2 separate regions of the Homo sapiens genome follow, and region 2 is linked to region 1. Evidence: promoter capture Hi-C in 16 types of primary human blood cells and fetal thymus (Javierre and others, 2016). All regions are on one chromosome and are shown on one strand. The core of a region is centred on a gene start or on the middle of the fragment in contact, and the rest is flanking DNA. Distances in the headings are between cores, read along the strand shown.

Region 1 (5,493 bases), core at 1,493-3,992:
AGTGACGATGGGCAGTATTTATATGTGTTTTAACGTTTCCAGCAATTCATTCTAGCAATTGGCTTTCTCATGCAATTGATAAAAGCATTTAAACGGAAACTTTAAAAGCTCTAAAAATGTTACCAGTTTATCATTCCTATCCATTTTACCTTTTTCTAAGTATAATGTTTAAGGCAGCTTAAAAGGTCCAAGAGAGCTGATATGGTATATTGAAAAAAAACAGAGCACCAAACTAGGACTCCGTATTTGTCTCCACTGCTAGATTATTAGCTTTTTGTAGGCAGAAACTTAAGTTGTCTTTTTCTGTTTTGTTTTTGTTGTTGTTGTTGTTGTTGTTTTTGAGACAGAGTCTCCCTCTGTCGCCCAGGCTGGAATGCAGCGGCGGGATCTCAGCTCACTGCAACCTCCGCCTCCCAGGTTCAAGCAATTCTCCTACCTCAGCCTCCCGAGTAGCTGGGACAACAGGCAAGTGCCACCACGCCCCCCTAACTTTTGTATTTTTAGTAGAGACAGGATTTTGCCATGTTGGCCAGACTGGTCTCGAACTCCTGACCTCAAGTGATCTGCGCACCTCGGCCTTCCAAAGTGTTAGGATTACAGGTGTGAGCCACCGCGCCGGATCTAGTTGTCTTTTTAATCTGTCAATTGTCCTCAGCATCTAGAACGCTTCATGACACCAAATTGTATATGTTTACTGAACTGAGCGACTGGTTTCCACACACGGCATTTTGTTTTTGTTGTTGCTGTTGTTTTTTGTGTGTGTGTGTGAGAGACAGGGTGTGGCTCTGCTGCCCAGTCTGGAGTGTAGTGGTGCTATCTCAGCTCACTGTAGCCTCAACCTCCTGGGCTCAAGCGATTCTCCCACCTCAGCCTCCACAGTAGTTGAGACCATAGGCACATGCCACCACACCCAGTTAAATTTTGAATTTTTTGTAGAGACAGGGTTTCACCATGTTGCCCAGGCTGGTCTGAAACTCTTGAGCTCAAGAAATCCGCCTGCCTCGGCCTCCCAAAGTGCAGGGATTACGGGCGTGAGCCACCGCGCCTGGAACTAACACCTCTATCATATAGAGAAAACTAACTTTTTTTTCTTTGGAAGCCATAAATTCACTATTAGATATCTAGGAAGAGAATACATTCAGGTAGTTAACATCTTTCCATAAATATATATTTCCCTACCTTATATCTGGTATCTTTCCATAATCCAAAAAGAAAACAAAAAAACCTATCTTAGTGAGCAAAACGTTTTTAAAAGTTAGTACTTTGAGTTACATTTTTATACCTAGGAAGTTAATTAACATGTTTAAGACACATAAAACCTAATAATTTTTAGGTTTGACAAAAGTCATACCCTCACAAGGATCCACAAATCCCTTGTCTCCAATTCTGAAACTTCAAAAGCTCTGGAAACCAAGTTTCTGTTTTTTTTTTTTTTTAGTAATTTATTTGACAGTCAAATAGATCTATCTTAAACTTATTTGGCAGAAGCGTCTGACTCAAACTGAATGAGGCTATTTACTTGTATTTATTTATCCCGTATGAACAATCATATATCTTGCTGCAAAAATATTAATATATTTGATTACGCAGTGTTTTCCCTAAACTCCCTGGGGTATTATAGAATATACAGTATATGACATTTGGTTTTTACCCAAGTCCACTAGACCACAGCAGACCTTGCCCTGATTGCTTGACAAAGTCTAGAGCCCCTTTCCAGTTTCTCTGAGACCATACCCCTGGCTCCAATCCAGCCTTTTCTTGAATACTAATTGAGGCTGCACGAACAGCTCAAAATGCCTATCATGATGTCAGTTGGAGAAATAAATATGCTGTGTGATCATACTGAAAGTCAATGTTATCACCTTGATGGTCAATGACCCGTGGTTTAAGAAGGAACATCTCGGTTTTTTAAAAAGTACCTTTCTATTTTTATCACCGGACGCTGGGCAGTTGAGGATCAGAATTAAGCCATTAGCTCGTAGGCTTGCAATGATATCTGCTCAATAAATATTTACCATTTAGCTGACGCACATCTTGGGCAGTATGTAAGAACTTCTCTCACACTGTGTTGGCAGCGACAGACATGTGCGGAGAAAAAGTAACCGGAGGCCTAATACTGGCTCAGCTCCAGCAATAAATCCATCATTACACCATGGAACTGGCACACTCCCCGTGTATATCTCAAGGACCCCACCCTCTGGCCGGCAGGATCATATCTAGGGATCTCAATTAGAGATCTCGTAGTGAATAAGGGCGAGTTATTCTCGTAACGCCAGAGGTGGTGGACCTGCCGACGCCCTAGGGTGGGACATTCCGGGCTTGGATAGTAAGACATCGTAAATATACGCCAAAATGTCCACACCAACGTTTCCCGAGAGTATTTCTTTACAAGTAAAAGACCGACTCAAAATCACCCCTCTCAAAACGCGTCTCTTTGGAACTGCAGAGTTAGGGAGTAAGACTTTCTGCCTGACCCCACCTACGTCGGCCGCGCGCTCTCAGAGCCAGGGCACCACGCTGCTCCTGCGCAGGTCCTAGACTCCTCCCTTCGGGAGGCTCACCCCCTCCCTTCTCGGCTACTTCCGGCCCTCACCGAACGCCCTCAACGCGCTTGCGCCGTTTTGATAGGCTTCTCGGGCCGAAGTAATCGGAGCGCTGCCTCTCTGGAACCGCCCCCGCCACCTCTTCGCCCCGCCCACGTATTACCGCCCCTCCGAAATCTCGCGAGGGTAGGTGCGCGTCGGTATTTTGCGGGCAACTAGCTCTTCCAGCTGCTGTAAATTGCTGCTGCGGGAGAAACTGGAGCCGCTGTAGCCGGCGCGCCCTTCTTCCCTTACTGCGAGGAGCCACCGCCTCTTTCGCGCTCCTTATACACCTATCACTGGGAGCGGTGGCAGCAACATTCCCTGGACCAACCGCCGCCTCTTCAGGCGGCCGCTTTGCCGGTCATTCCCGAAGCCCGGCAACTGAGGGCGGCCCCCTTTCCTTAACAGTCTCCTCGCTACAGATCGTCTGCTCCCTCAGCCTCGCCCGAGACCCACTTCCCCAGTCTCGCCCGGGTGGAGGTCGACGAGGAGGAGACAAGAGTCACCCTTCCTCCAGGCGGCGCCGGCCCCCTCACCCGCGGGTGTGTCCTATAAATGGCGTCGGAAAGCGACACCGAGGAATTCTATGATGCCCCTGAAGATGTGCACCTAGGGGGCGGCTACCCCGTGGGGTAAGTGACTGCAGCTATGACAGGAAGCCGGGCATCCCAAGCCCCCCGCATCTCCTGTGTCTTCCCCCTACACCCCTCCCAGGTCCCGCTGTGTCCGCCACCGCTGTTCCTCCCCGTCTCACTGGAGGACTTCAGAACCCAGACCTGGGGCTTCTTAGGGCGGGGTGACTCGGAGAAGGGGGAGTCAGCCACCTCGGGCAGCCTCCCGGCCGTTTCCCTACTGAACGGTCCCAGGGTCGGTCTCGGAGCCCGTTTCTCTTCTGATCCAGCCTTCTGTGAGGGGGAACAGCTTACGTGCCTGAGTCGGAGATTTGTATCTGTGGGGTTCTGAGCTTACCTTTCAAACATCCGTTTTGGCCTCGGGGACCGTAGATTAAAGGAGCAGTAACAGGAGAAATGTAACTTGTAGTTTTTTATTCTCCCGTTTACCGCTAACTTACCTATTCACTTCAGAGGTGGCTGTAACTCTCCCCTATTTGCCGTCCTCTTTTTCTTGCACACAGCGAAAAGGAGCGGGGGGAAGGTTGGGTATTTGCTTAAGAAAGTCCTCTAGCGAATGTACTCTAGATCAACAGTGTTTTATTAAAATAACACCTTATCGTGAGGTAAAGGAAATCGAATACACGGTCCCTATTAGGCAGAATGCGGTCTAAAAGGATGGCCAGACAGAAGAAATGTGCACAACTGACTGCAGAGGGACAAACAAGTGCTGAGTAATCTGGTGATTGGAAGGAGAGCCCCAGCTTTGTGTTCTTTATCTAATTCTGCAAGATGTTTTAGTGGTGATTAATATGGGTGATTCTGAATAGGAAGTACAGTAGTTGGAATGCTCGCTTGACTAGGACTTGTATTTACTTACCCACTTCTCCACTTTTCAAAGTTGGGGTAGTGCTTTAAAGCGATTTCGCCGAACTCCCCTACGAATGTACGTGGAAATAGAGGCAGTGAAATATATTTTCATGCTGTAAGAACTTGAGGATTGGTAAAATGTAGATGTTAGTATAAAGGACTAATATGGTTCGAGAAGTTCACTGCCTTCAATTCTCACACTTACTCCGTGGGAGTAATAACCCGCTGTGATGCAAGTATAGTTAGCCATGCATGCTAGAAGTCATTCTAAAAACTAATGTATGTTTATACACAATATGCACCAAAAAGTTACAGTAATAAAATCAGAAAGCAATGTACGTTGGTAGATTTCAGATGTTTGTCTTTCCACCAACCTTCATGTCACTGTTGTGGGATTTTGGGGTGGCAGTGGCCAATCTTGAGATGACACCGAATCTCCTTCAAGTTCAATATCTGAGACAAGTTTAGAGCTAGGTGTAGAGCATAGGAAATACATTTGGGTTTTGAAATGTATTGGACTTCCGTGAAACTTAATTTTTGTGTGTGTGGTTTTCCCTTCAAAGTAATGAACTGACAATTCAGATTGAATGAGACACCAAGTCCTTTGGTACTTTTGTGTGTGTGTATTGGGGTGGGGGAGGGAAATCATCAGTTTATGAGCTGATCAGTTTAGAACTACTCTGTGGATATTGTTCTTTCCACTGAATAAGTTTAATTTCAAAGGACGCAAGTTATATCAGGACCTGTGTAAACTGTCTAGTCCAGTACCTGGGCACAGAGAAAGCATTCAAAATGTTCATGCTTTTCTCCTTCCTTTCTTGGCATTGGCAAATTTGTTAACTTTACACAAAGCTTATTTTGGGAGATATATAGAACTTGGACCTATTTTACTTATCTAAACCGGATGAGTCATTTTGATAGAATTGATAGAGTCACTTCTTCCCTCATGAGATAATACAGCTTCTCAAGCACTTTGATCCTCTGATATTAGGTGAAAACTGAAAAAGGTTTTTTTGGAACTCAGCTTTCTAATTTTAACTTTAACCTGCCCAATTACTAAGTGTGTTGAGTTCTATGGATAAAACTACAGGGTCAGTTTGTGGATTTCAGGGCTCCTTTCTGTATTAGAGGATTGGAAAGACAATAGACTAATCTGGAGAATTGCATCTGAAAAGAACTGGCAGCACTGAGGGCAGAAAAAGGTTAGCATCATTTACATTTTCCTCTATCCTTTGTGGAAGGTTGTATCATTTGCATAAGACACCGTGAGGAGATCTGGGTGGGCAACTTATAACCTAGAAATGTAGTGAGAAATCTTGATTTGTGGAAACAGATTGCCTTACTAGATATTGGTCATCAGAAATATGTTCTGTTCCTTCATATGATCTGGAGTGGCAAACTATACAATTTCTAAGGTTAATAGACTG
Region 2 (5,493 bases), core at 792-3,291, 360 kb after region 1:
ACTGTACTCCAGCCTGGGCAACAGAAAAAGACTCCTTCTCAAAAAGAGAAAGAAAAGAAAATGGGTAAAGAACGTGAATAGGCAATTTGCAGAAGAAAAAATTCAAGTGGTCAATAAACATAGGAACTAATGTTCAATTTTATTATTAAATAAATATGAATTAATACTAGACAAAGGAGGAAATATCTTTTTTAAACTCTAAGAAGAAACAAAATGATAAACATCTGAGATATCTAGTCTAAAAAAAGGTTGGTACAACTTCAGAGACACTTTATCTGGGTTCCTTGCTTTTTCTCTCTGCTTCTTACTCCCCATAAACCTACTTCTCCCCACAGGAGGTGCCTTCTAGACATCTTGACATCGTGGTGAAGATGGAAAGAGTGTTTTACTAGACATGCCAAGAAAGGCTCTCCCAGTTCAAGTTTGCTTGTTTGGTTGTTTTTTTGTTTTGTTTTTTGTTCGTTTGAGAGACAGACCTTTTTACCAAGGTGGCTAACACAAAGAATTAACTTGTCCAGCTGAGAACTCACCCCTGAGTCACAGAGGTTTATGTTACTCTGGTTAACTCAAACATAGAACCACAACTAAGCAAACCGCAACAACTGCGGCATTCATAAAACAAGAATCATGCTTAGGCAGTCATTTAAGTGGGCTCATCACAGGACAGTAAATAATGACAAAAGAAAGCAGGGTGTGGAAGGGAATTGTGATGTTAATAACTCGTACAATGCTTAAATGCATGCCCGGCACTGTTCTAAATTAAATCCTTCAATGATCACTACAACTTTGTTAGGTAATGACACATATCCCTCATTTTATGAATGGGGAAACTAAGGCACAGCAAAGCTAGATAACTTGTTTGAGATCACACAATCGGTGGCAATGCTGGAATTTGAACCCAGAGAATCTGGTGTAACAGTTCACACTCAAGCCACCACTTTGAGAGGAATCAAGGGAAAAAGAAGAGAGATCTAAGAGAATAAAAAGGGGAGGAAGGAGGAGGAAAAACTCAGCTCACTAACACCTGAAGGCAATTGCTACATGGTACCCAGCCTCCTTTTTCAGGCCCACACCCAGGTCTTTGCAGTCCCCACCTCTACCTCTGTTATCAAGCTTCCTAAAATGACATGATTTGGGGATAAGTGTTCAAACTATTTTTTTCACAAATAAATGGTGTCCAGAGGAATTGATGTTGTTTCTTTTTTCTTTTTTTTTTTTTGAAATGGAGTCTCGCTCTGTCACCCAGACTGGAGTGCAGTGGCGTGATCTCCACTCGCTACAACCTCTGCCTCCCAGGTTCAAGTGATTCTCCTGCCTCAGCCTCCCAAGTAGCTGGGATTACAGGTGTGTGCCACCACGCCCAGCTAATTTTTGTATTTTTAGTACAGACAGGGCTTTGCCATGTTGACCAGGCTGGTCTCAAACTCCTGTCCTCAAGTGATCCGCCTGCCTCGGCCTCCAAAGTGCTGGGATTACAAGCATGAGCCACTGCGCCTGGCCTGATATTGCTTCTATTGTATCTTAGATTCAGGGGGTACATGTGCTTGTCTGTTACATGAGTATATTCTGTACTGGGAGTGGGCTTCTAGTATAGCCATTACCCAAATAGTAAACATTGTACCTGATAGGTAATTTTCTAACTCTCTCCCCAATATAATAATAATAATTATTATTATTATTATTTTTGAGACGGAGTCTCACTCTGTTGCCCAGGCTGGAGTGCAATGGCATAATCTCGGCTCACTGCAACCTCCGCCTCCTGGGTTCAAGCGATTCTACTGCCTCAGCCTCCCGAGTAGCTGGGATTACAGGCACCCGCCACCACTCCCGGCTAAGTTTTGTATTTTTAGTAGAGACAGGGTTTCACTATGTTGGCTAGGCTGGTCTTGAACTCCTGACCTCAAGTGATCTGCCCGCCTCAGCCTCCCAAAGTGTTGGGATTACAGGCATGAGCCACCGTGCCCGGCCTTATTATTTTTTATATTACAAACAACAATTGTTTTCAGAAGGAATCCATGTGAATTCAGGAATATAAAAATGCTGCCTTGGCCAGGCACCATGGCTCATGCCTGTAATCCCAGCACTTTGGGAGGCCGAGGTGGGTGGATCACGAGGTCAGGAGTTCAAGACCAGCCTGGCCAACATGGTGAAACCCCATCTATACTAAAAATGCAAAAATTAGCCAGGCATGGTGGTGTGTGCCTATAATCCCAGCTACTTGGGAGGCTGAGGGAGGAGAATTGCTTGAACCCAGGAGGCGGAGGTTGCAGTGAGCCAAGACCACGCCACTGCACTCCAGCCTGGCAGCAGAGCAAGACTCCGTCTCAAAAAAAAAAGAAAAAAAAAGCTGCCTTTTTGGTTTCAGTTTTCTTCCCTCTGCCTATGTGCAACCTAGAGCACCAAAATCAGAAGATCCATTCATGCCTTTTCCGCAGCACTAAGCTATAATTTAAACAGGAAAAGGCAAAGTTGCAGCTTTTGAACAGCCATAAGCCCTTACATCCTAGTAAGATGGCAGACTAAATTGTAGATAACTCCAGCTTCTCAAATTCTTAAAAGCCCTGTAGTCTTCATCCACCCTGTGCCATGTCTTTAGGATTCTATAAGACAGTAAGACTTTATTTCTAAACCAACTACTGAGATTGAAGATAAAATTAGAGCTTTAAGCCCCTTACCAAATTAATGGGAAGAGACTCTGAAAATTTAGAAATTCACTTCTGGAGTAGTGGAAGAATGGCGAAATTCACCTACTCAGTTTACAGTGGGGCCTCTCTCCAAGTTCGAGAGCCTGACACCCAGCTGTTTGCTGAGCTTCTCTCCTTAGGTGATCCACAGGCACCTCACAATCACCATGCTCCTCTTTCCTCTCAACCTGCTCCTCCTCCTCTGTTCTCCGTCTCAGTTGAGGACACCCCTTCCTATCCAGTGACACTGGCCAGAAATTTACAAGTCACCTAGACTAGTGGTCAGTAAGCTTTTCCTATAAAGGACTATTTATAGAAATATGTGAAGCTGGCGACAGAGTGAGACTCCGTCTCAGAAAAAAAAAAAAAGAAGAAATATGTGAAGCTTTGCAAGCCATACACTCTCTGCTGCAGCTACTCAACTGCTGCTGCAGGATGAAAACAGCTACTGAACAATATGTAAGAAATGGGCAGGGCTATATTCCAGTCAAATTGTGTGAGTGCTAAAATTTGGATGTCATGTCATTTTCATATGTTACAAGATATTCTTTTGAGTTTTTTCCAACCACTTAAAAATGTAATAAACCACTCTTAGCTTACAGGTTGTACAAAAGTAGGTGGGCTAGATTTGGTATATGAAGAGCTTGCTGCTCTAGAATCCTCACTCTCCTCCCTTCCCCACATCTGATCAGACAAGTCCAACAATCTCACTTTGTTTTCTTTTTTTTTTTTTTTTATCTGAGAAGGGGGCCTTACTATGTTGCTCAGGCTGGTCTCAAACTCCTGGTCTCAAGTGATCCTCCTGCCTCAGCCTCCTGAATAGCTGGGACTACAGGTGTGCACCACCATGCCTGGAGATCTCACTTTTTAAATGGTTATTGAATCTCTTCATCCATCTTTACATCATTTTAGTTCAGGTACTTGTCCATTTTGCTTTTTTTTTTTAATTTTTGAGACACAGTCTCGCTCTGTCACCCAGGCTGGAGTGCAGTGGCACAACCTCGGCTCACTGCAACCTCTCCACCTCCTGGGTTCAAGCGATTCTCCTGTCTCAGCCTCCAGAGTGGTTGGGATTGCAGGCACGCACCAAGCCCAGCTAATTTATTATTTTTTTTTTTTTGTATTTTAGTAGAGACGTGGTTTTACCCTGTTGGCCAGTCTGGTCTCAAACTCCTGACCTCAAGTGGTCTGCCCACCTTGGCCTCCCAAAGTGCTGGGATTACAGGCATGAGCCACCGCGCCAGGCCCATTTTGCTTTCTGACATAGACAGTTAAGCAAAATTGAAAACTACAAGGAAAGATCCTCTACAACTATCGTACATGGAAGTACATGTCCTTCCCATGTTTTTTTAAGTTCCTTATAGTGTATAGCATAAGTTACAGATTAGTTTGCCCCTTCCTTCAGCTGGCACTGGATAAATAATATGTTAATGCATGCCACCATTTTCTGCTGTGGCCTGGGAAGAGAGGGCATATGATGCTCTATCAGCTACCTCCAGTGAAAGGGTCTACAAAGCAGAGAGTGGGAGACAGCATTTGAGAGCATGCTGGCTGTTTCTAACCTCAGGGGCTGGCTGGACTATGTCTGGCCCCTTCTTTCCAGTGGTCTCCACACTGGATATTCAGATCTGCTTTCACTTGGAACCACACATCTGCATGTGGCTAGGACCCAGCTAATCTGCCAAGGACATTTGAGGTGTTTGCTCCTCAATTTCTAGTTCTCTGCCCCATCTATACCTTTGATGAGGCATTGGACAGCAATAGCATTCTTGTCTGGAAACATGACCGGCGGGCAAATATCAAGGGAGCTAGTGCCACCTACATGATGACAGTCACCACATCATGGTGACAGCGAGCAAGAGACATTAGGTAAACCACTCTTTGATGTCATTCCTTCTGTGTAAAGGGGAAAAAGAGGAAATCCAATCTAGTTCCTATTTTATTCAATTACTGGAATATAAGAAACATTTCAGGCCGGGCACTGTGGCTCACACCTGTAATCCCAGCACTGTGGGAGTCCAAGGCAGGTGGATCACTTGAGGTCAGGAGTTCCAGACCAGCCTGGCCAACCTGATGAAACTCCGTCTCTACTAAAATACATAAAAATTAGCTGGGCGTGGTGGCGGGTGCCTGTAATCCCAGCTACTCGGGAGGCTGAGACAGGAGAATTGCTTGAACCCAGGAGGCAGAGGTTCCAGTGAGCTGAGATTACACTACTGCACTCCAGCCTGGGTGACAGAGTGAGATTCTGTCTCAAAAAAAAAAAAAAGGAACATTTCAAATTTGTGATTGTTTCCTTTTTCTATGGTGTCTAATCAGTTTCTTTTATTTACTTATTGTTCTACTTTTTAAATGTTTTTGTGGGGATGAGAGTCTTGCCATGTTGCCCAGAACTGTTCTCGAACTCCTGGGCTCAGGTGATCCTCCCACCTCGGCCTCCCAAAGTGCTGGGATTTATGGGCATGAGCCACCATGCCCAGCCAGTCAATGTCTTAATAAAACATCTTCTGCCTGATTTTCGACAGGATGATTGTTATCTACTTATCTTTCAATTTAAAATTACTGGCCGGGTGCAGTGGCTCACACCTGTAACCCCAGCACTTTCGGAGGCCAAGGCAGGCGGATCACTTGAGGTCAGGAGTTCAAGACCAGCCATGGTGAAATCCCATCTCTACAAAAATGCAAAAAAAATTAGCTGGGTGTGGTGGCACATACCTGTAGTCCCAGTTACTCGGGAGGCTGAGGTGGGAGGATCACCTGAGCATAGGAGGTCGAGGCTGCAGTGAGCCAAGATCGCACCACTGCACTC

What was found. Contacts are between HindIII fragments. The CHiCAGO score rates a contact against its expected background, and 5 or more counts as called.
Region 2: a contact is called between a fragment that was not itself captured here and the fragment with the promoter of WDR44 in region 1, in 1 of 17 cell types (neutrophils). The highest score is 6.0, in neutrophils.

Annotation. Positions count from the first base shown.
Region 1 is chrX:118,343,364-118,348,856 of GRCh38, forward strand. It overlaps WDR44 (WD repeat domain 44), which reads left to right and starts at 2,743. Exons shown (of 20, transcript NM_019045.5): 1 at 2,743-3,217. The coding sequence starts at 3,141. RefSeq lists enhancers at 1,974-2,093, 2,284-2,333, 2,875-3,418, 4,914-5,493. The HindIII fragment of the contact is 5,332 bases long and covers 1-4,916 here.
Region 2 is chrX:118,702,333-118,707,825 of GRCh38, forward strand. It overlaps LOC124905207 (a long non-coding RNA gene), which reads left to right. Exons shown (of 2, transcript XR_007068306.1): 2 at 336-1,186. Among named protein-coding and RNA genes, the nearest start is that of IL13RA1, 23 kb to the right of the region's middle. The HindIII fragment of the contact is 1,861 bases long and covers 1,112-2,972 here.